Regions from separate parts of the Homo sapiens genome. Here region 2 is linked to region 1. The links are contacts of gene promoters, found by promoter capture Hi-C in blood cells and fetal thymus (Javierre and others, 2016). All regions are on one chromosome and are shown on one strand. Each heading gives the region's core, a stretch centred on a gene start or on the middle of the fragment in contact. The rest is flanking DNA. Distances are from core to core; before and after follow the strand shown.

Region 1 (3,871 bases), core at 589-3,088:
GTCTTTCACTGCTGCAGCTACTGGGAACCTACAAAAAAGCGGGAGATAAAAAAAAAAAAAAAAAAATCACAAGTTCGAATTTATGGATACACAAGTATCATTTCATATTCATGACATCAGCAAATCACATCATAATCAGATTTGAGCAAGGTTTGGACACTAAGACCCAAAAGACTGGACACTCAACACTGACAGTATCACATATTAACCAGAAAATTCGCTTTTTTGTTATGGAATCATAGGGTGAAAATTAAGTCTTTTAACTTTGAAAAGCTTACTTTTCACTTCTGAGGCCAATTTTTACACTAATAAATTTCAAGTAAACGTCTCTTTTAAAGTTGTTCCACAACATTTTAATTCAAACTTCTATTTCCTTTCTCAGTTGGGGTAGTGTTTTGTTTGTGTTTTAAAAAAACACATGGCACAACAAACGTTATGGAAAACGCACTCATTCCGTTAAATGCCGATACAAACCTGCCTTTTACTACATCTGTCTAAGCAGCGCATTGCTAAGTATAAACTTAAAAAAATTTTTTTTTCTCAAAGACATATCTATTATTTCTTGGCAAATACTATTTGGTGATGTGGTGCAAAAACACAATGGTAAAAAATTTCGGGGTATTTGTAAGTTTTCTGGAGAGTTGCAGGCCCCTTTCCTTTTGAAAGTTTAGAGCTCCAATACCCTCAATTCTACTGGCAGAATTAGGATGGACTTAGAGGGTCCTAAACGTGACCGATTCACTAAGGCGGGGGGGGGGGGGGGCTACAGCTTGCAGCAACGTGCTCTGCAACTTAATCCTACGCTAAAAGAGGGCAGAGAGCGAAAAAGAATGGAATACAAACTCTCCCGACATCCGTAGTTACTTTCAAGGTGGATTGTGTATTTTAAGGCTGATGGGAACGTCTGGTTTGTGGAGCAAAAAGAAGAGAAGGTAAGTGTTTGTCCTTGTATCCACCAGTTCGTAGAGAAACAATGAAAGAACAAAGGGAACCACTTCCCCATCTGAACATTTTCTGTATCTCCCTCCGTTTCAAGCCAAAAAGCTTGGGAAGGGATTCGCTTTACTCTACCTTAAGTAGTGGTTGCTGGCTTGTTGAACTAAGAATGAGAAAAAAGTTGAGAGGCAGATATAGACTAAATAATAATAAAAAAGGCTTGCTGTGGCGGATCTCCACCGCGCCAGTGTCAGCAACTTGCAGCAGAAGTTGCTCAATGCACGGAGGCAAAGCCCAAGAAATACCCTTTGCACACCAGATTTCGAACTCAGTCATTTAAATAGACTTTCTTGCTGTTTGAAGGGGTTTCTGCGCACAAAATGTGTAGGTAGTGGCTATGGGAGAGATGTACTATTTAGGTCGAAAAATGATCTCATGGCTATCTGGAAAAGAATTTTTAAAAAGGAAAGGGGATTCAAGTATCACGTTACTGTTTGCTAATAGAAGAAATGGCAGCACTGGCTGGGAAAGGAGAGGGATTCGTATTGAAATGCATTTGCTTTGGGGTACGCTGGTTATCCGCAAGTCTGGCTTTGTGGGTCTGCGTGGCTGAATAAGTGACCAAGTGCCTTCGGCATTATATAAACGGATCGATGTGTGCGGGAGTCCCCAAAGCCGTCGAGCACGTGAAACGCGACTTTTTACTGCCCTCCAAGCGGCGACCAAGCCCCGCTCCACCCCACCCCGCCTCAAAATCCGTATATTACCTGCCCTGTTACAGTGACACATGTTTATGTTTATAGTCCTGGTTTGTAGTAGTGTCAAGAACCGCAGCAAGAGGAAGGGGAGGAGAGAGGAGAGGGAGGAGTAAATTCAACCACCCCCACTTGTTGTTAAAGCAAATTTACTGCGTTATTGCAAGCTCAGGACGGGGGGCTGGGATGAGAGTTGAGAGGAAGGGTTGAGTTGGGAAGTGTGTTGGCGGTGGAAGGTGGGGGTGGGGTTAAGAGCTCCGCAATGGAGCTCCTCTCCCCAGCAGCCCAGGAAAAGCAGCTCGGTCAATAGGGGAGCATGCTGGCGCGGTCGAAAACAAAAAGGTTCCTCCTGCTCGCTGCGTTCACGTGGGGGGCTCTGCACGCGGGGCTCCAGGGCCGTGACCCCTGACCCCGGCTCCTCTCCGCGCTCTCCGGTGCCGCGCGGCCACTTTTTACCCAGGATCCCTCGCGCGGGCCGCGCTCGTGCCGAGCTGGAGTCCTTCCTAATCCTCCATTCCCGGCTCTCGCTCCCCGCCCCCGCCGCCAGCCCCGGGGGAGGATTCTCCGGCGGGGAACCCCCGCCCCACCCCCACCCCGACTGCCCCGGCGGAGTCGGCCGCAGCGAGTCCGCGCGGGGCGGGGAGGGCCGGGCCGGGCCTCCCCTACCGCGCCGGGCCTGCGAGGGAGGGGAGGGACGGGGAGCCGAGGGGAGGGGGCGCCGGCCTCCCGGCTCAGCTGCCCCACTGAGGCCTGGACCTGTTGACTGCGATTGGCCCGCCTCATCCCGCGCCCTCTCTCTGCTCGCAGCGGCCCCAGCCCTTCCGCGGCGTCGCGGGGAGGAAATGGGGATGGCTGTCCTCCTCTCCGCCTCCTTCTAACTTTCCTTTTTTTATTTGGGTGTGTTGGGGGGGGTGCTGAGAAAGCCCAGGCAACTCCACCGCCGCCCCATCCTGCCTCCGAAAGTCTCGTCACGCCCGACCCGCCGCCGCCCTCCCAGCCCCCATGACTTAAAACCGCCTCCCCTCCTCGCAGCGGCGCCCCGGCCCGGAGCCCGAGAGCCCTCGACGCCCCCGCCGCGCCTCCCCCGCCTGGCCTGGCCCAGCGGCGTCCCCAGCGAATTGTGTCGCTTTTCTGCCCTGGAAGCTCCCTCGGCCACGTTCCACTTTTTTTCCCAGTCCCAGGAGGCGTAAGATAAAACCTCTGATTTGCTGCGTGCTGCCGGGCACATTCTCTGCCCTCTCGTCCGAAGGACGAGTTTAAAATGGAGAGTTTAAAATAATAGCATTTACAGGAGGAAATAAAGAGCGAGGAGATGGTTCTTTGGCCGGTTTTAAGACATACATGCTTTTTTTTTCTTTTAATACAAGATGTCTTAAGGGTTAAAAGCGTTCTAGGGTTTGCTGTATTTCCTTCTAGATTTGGGGTTTCCTGAGGAAATCTTTTCCGGAGGGAAATAGCAAATCAACATTAAGATGGAAGCGAGACTTCTCAGCCACTTTTGGAAATGAAGGGGGAAATTGTAAAAATACATTCAGAAAAGGGCGCGAAGGCGGCGGCTGAGGGGAAGAAGCTGGAGTCTTGGGAGGAAGCGCAGTGGGTTGGAATCGGGGGAAGGAGGGCCCGCTAGGTCCGGGCGGGGAAGAAGGCGTGCGGGCGGCGGGGCGTGCGCCGGGCCGGGCAGCTGGAGGAAGGCGCGGCGGGACTGGCGAGCGCGAAGAGGCAGGCGGGGAAGGCCTCGGGGGGCGGGGGCCGGGCGCGGGGCCGGCGCGCCGGAGGAAGCGGGACCTGGCTCCTCGCGCCCGCCGGGCCGCCCCCATTGTTCTGCCCTAGCACCGCTGTTAGCCGAGCACGTCCTGACCGAGGGAGGGGCCCCGCGGGCCAACCCGACCCCCGTCGGCGCCTCCCCGGGCTCCTGAGCTCCGGCCGGGTCGGGTCGGGCCGGCGCGGCAAGTTTTGATGGTCAGACTCAGCCAGCGAGGGGTTCCCAGCTGAAGACCTCGGAGGAAGGAGCCTTTACAGCGTGCTGCGAAATTGAAGGAAGCCGGGCGAGCCTGCAACGCACACGTTATGAGAAAAAGGGAAAGCAACATAGATATGTTTATAAAGTGATAAATAGATAAGAGACACCCGTGGGCAGTTATTATTCTGGATCCGGAAAGTTACAGTAGATTATATAATAT
Region 2 (3,871 bases), core at 622-3,121, 450 kb after region 1:
TCAATTCTGTAAAAATCAAAATTTCTATGACCAAAGAAGAAAACTTGTTACTTCCAATATTTGAACTGTCATAATTACAGCAGCAGTCTTTCCTATGTGACTCCTGAAGGCAAATGTAGCACCAATGAATGAAACTGACAGTTATTAGGTTAAGTTTTAATAACCACACTAACAATGAAAATGGCCGTCTATGAAGAAAGTCCTATATTTCTATTACCAGAGAAAATCCAGCTGAAGGTACATAACCAATGATTAGATTAAAATTATTTTCAAATGTTCTATTAAATACCAAGACTCTATTGTTCTATTGTGATCCTAGCAAAGGGATAAATATTTCCTAGCACTTGGCTAGAACCCATCTTCTCTTATACAACAGATGAAAATGATAACTTTTTGCTGAAATGAATCTAAATTGCTGAAATGAGCTGTATCAGTATTCCTCAAATATGCAGTTGTACCTGAAGTTAATCATATTGGGTAAAAGAACTGTGTTTCAAAACAAATGTGTGAAAAACCTGAATGTGCATAGTTAACAAAATTATTTTTGGTAATTATTTACTAAGGCTGCATAGTTTTATGCTCACTACTTAAAAAAAAAAAAGAAAAAAAGAAAAAAGAAGTGTTAGAAAAGATCTGGAGATGAAAGTTTCTCTAGCTTGAAATATGATTTTTGGCCAGGTGCGGTGGCTCACACCTGTAATCCTAGCACTCTGGGAGGCCGAGGAGGGTGGATCGCCTGAGGTCAGGAGTTCGAGACCAGACTGGGCAACATGGTGTAACCCCATCTCTACTAAAAATACAAAATCGGCCGGACCTGGAGGTGCGTGCCTGCAATCCCAGCTACTTGGGAGGCTGAGGCAGGAGAATCACTTGAACTTGGGAGGCAGAGGTTGCAGTGAGCCGAGATCACGCCACTGTACTCCAGCCTGGGCAATCGAGTGAGACCCGTCTCAAAAAAAAAAAAAAGAAAAAAGAAAAAAAGGAAAAGAAATATGATTTTCAATAGTAACCTACCAACCAGATAGGTCTTAACACTTTTCTTTTCAGTAATGAGGAAGTTAGGCTCAACCTAACCAGTTAAAATGAAAATTTAAACAAAATGGAATTTTCACCCTCAAGAACATAGGAAATGTAGAAGTCTGACTAGAATGTCAAATACCGATTAGGGTATGGGGAGTGAAATCAGTACGGCCATTTTGGAAAGTAATTTTGCTATGTCTAGGAAGATTCAAAATACTATGTAACCCGTGATGCAGCTAACCCATTCTGGGTACATAATCCAGAGCCGATTAAGATGCACAGCACAAAATTTATGATTAAGATACACAGCACAAAATTTATTTTGTATCACACCATAAACTTTTTTATTGAAACCTACAGTAGGAAATACATTTTATATCACAACTCAGAACACAATTACATATATTTCATGAAAAAGTAAGTACCTTTTACCCTGACACTTTGTACTGCATTCTATTCTGAAAAGTACAGACTCCAACTTACTACACTGCCTTCGTTACCTGCTGTTTGGAAAACACTGCTCTAAAAACCTGTAGCAATATATACAAGACAACATTTATAAGGTTGTTCACTGTGATATTGTTTAAAATGGAGAAAAAACGATGTTACTTACATATTCATTAATAGGTAGATAACTGCAAAATACAATGTAATATTATGAAGTAATTAATGGTTTAAAGTAGATTTCTCTATGTAATGTAATATGTATACTTCTTATGTAATATGTATACATCTTAAAAATACAATGCAGGGTGAAAAAAACAAGAAAAAATGTTCCCAGAATATCATTTATGTAAATTTCTAACAATATCATATTATGTTTATGAATATATATACACAGATATAAAATTATGAAAATGGTATGGAAGTATATATTTTAATATATTAACTCACAGTGGACTAGGGGTACTCATACAGTATAGGCTGGTTAAAGAGGACTTCAGCATTATATATGTAATGTTTTCATTTTTGAAGAGCTATTTAAATGTTACTTTAAAATAGTTATTTGAAAGAGTTGCAGCAAGTTCTGAGAATTTACTTGGTAAAATGGGAGTAGAGGCGAGAAGAAATGAGGTATAAAGGAGTAGAACCAGGTTATTAATATCCCAATGCTCAAATCAATGAATATGAGAAAAAAATAAGCTGCAATAAATAAATAAATAAATAAATGAGAAAGAGAGTGAGAGAGAGAGACCAAAATCACAGACTAAGGAATTATTAGGGAGGTATATAGCAATAGCTGGGGGAAAAAACATGAAGTGGGCTGAAAAGGCAGGAAGAAAAGGCCTAACAACTGGTAAACTGATCCATTCCTCATTGGTGGTTCAACTGTATAAATAAAAGGGTGGCAGCTTAGCGGGAAAGTACTTAGCAACTCTGTTTACACAGACAATAGAAAGTGCCACTAGAGTGGCAAATTGAACTGTGCAAGGCCAATTAACCCTTTCACCTTAGTGTTTCATACTAGCTATCTTACTTACTGTCCCTCTGTTAGATCTACACTGATAAGTGTTAGGACCAAATGCAATTATAAATCATTGTTACATGTATTGATGAATTCTGCAAATTCCATGAAGCACATTAATTTTACTTAGTGTTCTGAATACCTTCTTTGCTGCTCTCATCTGGTTTTAATTAAGAAACACTTTCAAAGGAAGAGAGGTTATCCAGAAACTCAAACTACACATGTCCTTCATTAAACTATGAATTGATTACTATTCAACTTTTTTGGCCTAAAGGTTTTTTTAAAAAGTTAGATTCACCTCAAGTTTCTTCTAGATAAATTATGGGAAAATTAGGGAAAGAGTAACATATTTAGATGGGCAAAAATATAATAGGGAAATCTTAAAATGCACTGAAGAGGTCCATAAATTAGCTGCTGCATAAGCAGCTTTATCTATATTACAGTTTATTACTTTTAAGAGAAACTTTGAATCTTGAAGGACCATACAATAAGATTTTTTTTCAAAAGACAGTAATAGATTTATTGCTGGAAACTGTATTCATCTTCCTGATTCCAAAATACAGTCATGTATCTTCTTTATCCATATTTGAGAACCAGGATCAAATTTTTACATAGCCTACAAAATCTAGAAAAGTATATACCAACCAGGCATGCAACATTTGGTAATGAACATATTGTAAAATGTTGGCATATGTAAAAGGCTTTGATTCTATGAGGTAGGGCCAATAATAAAAGCATGTGATTGTTCAGTCGTAAACTAAGGCAATCCATACAAACATTTATTAACTGTTACACTGTCTTTTCCCTACTACCCACAGGTCCTGAAAGTACCAACATCATCCCACTGTCATCTGAAATTACATGCCACATCTTCTTCTGGCCAGTTATTTGTCACTGAATCTTTGTAGTAATAATTCCTAAGACGCTAGTCAAATAATAGGAAAATGCCAACAGACCATATTAGTGGGGGAGAGTTAAAAGGAATATGTACATACTGTATTTCTTAACCCATCAAAAATCAACAGAAGTCTGAAAAGGTTACCCTTGCATTTTAGGAGTAAGCGATGTTTTCCAGTTCTGTTTTTTTTCTCAGCTCTTCCCACTAAGCAACAAAACGCAAACGAGCTAGAGAATTCTGCCTTCCTTATGCTACAGAGGCTATGTTTAATGACTCCTGTGGCCATGTTAAAATCAGTGGAGGAAGAGACAAACACTGCAGCTTCTGCCTTTCTCTAAGTCTTCTTGAATGCCGCCGGCCCACCCACTAGGCTCCCCTATTTCTCTTTTCTTCCGTAACAACAACAGCACAAACATTGCAAAAGCAACCAATCAAAACAAGTAGCATCAGTAAAGGGGCAATGGGGCCAATGGTAAGCAACAGAAGCA

What was found. Contacts are between HindIII fragments. The CHiCAGO score rates a contact against its expected background, and 5 or more counts as called.
Region 2: a contact is called between a fragment that was not itself captured here and the fragment with the promoter of SKIDA1 in region 1, in 1 of 17 cell types (erythroblasts). The highest score is 5.6, in erythroblasts.

What each region holds. Positions count from the first base shown.
Region 1 is chr10:21,523,844-21,527,714 of GRCh38, forward strand. SKIDA1 (SKI/DACH domain containing 1) reads right to left here and starts at 1,839. Exons shown (of 4, transcript NM_207371.4): 1 at 1,704-1,839; 2 at 1-28. RefSeq lists enhancers at 1,231-1,874, 1,875-2,518 and silencers at 2,174-2,593, 2,714-2,863, 3,309-3,428, 3,439-3,758, 3,618-3,776. The HindIII fragment of the contact is 4,259 bases long and covers 1,043-3,871 here.
Region 2 is chr10:21,973,149-21,977,019 of GRCh38, forward strand. The region is part of intron 1 of DNAJC1 (DnaJ heat shock protein family (Hsp40) member C1); the gene reads right to left. Among named protein-coding and RNA genes, the nearest start is that of DNAJC1, 29 kb to the right of the region's middle. The HindIII fragment of the contact is 5,267 bases long and covers 1-3,871 here.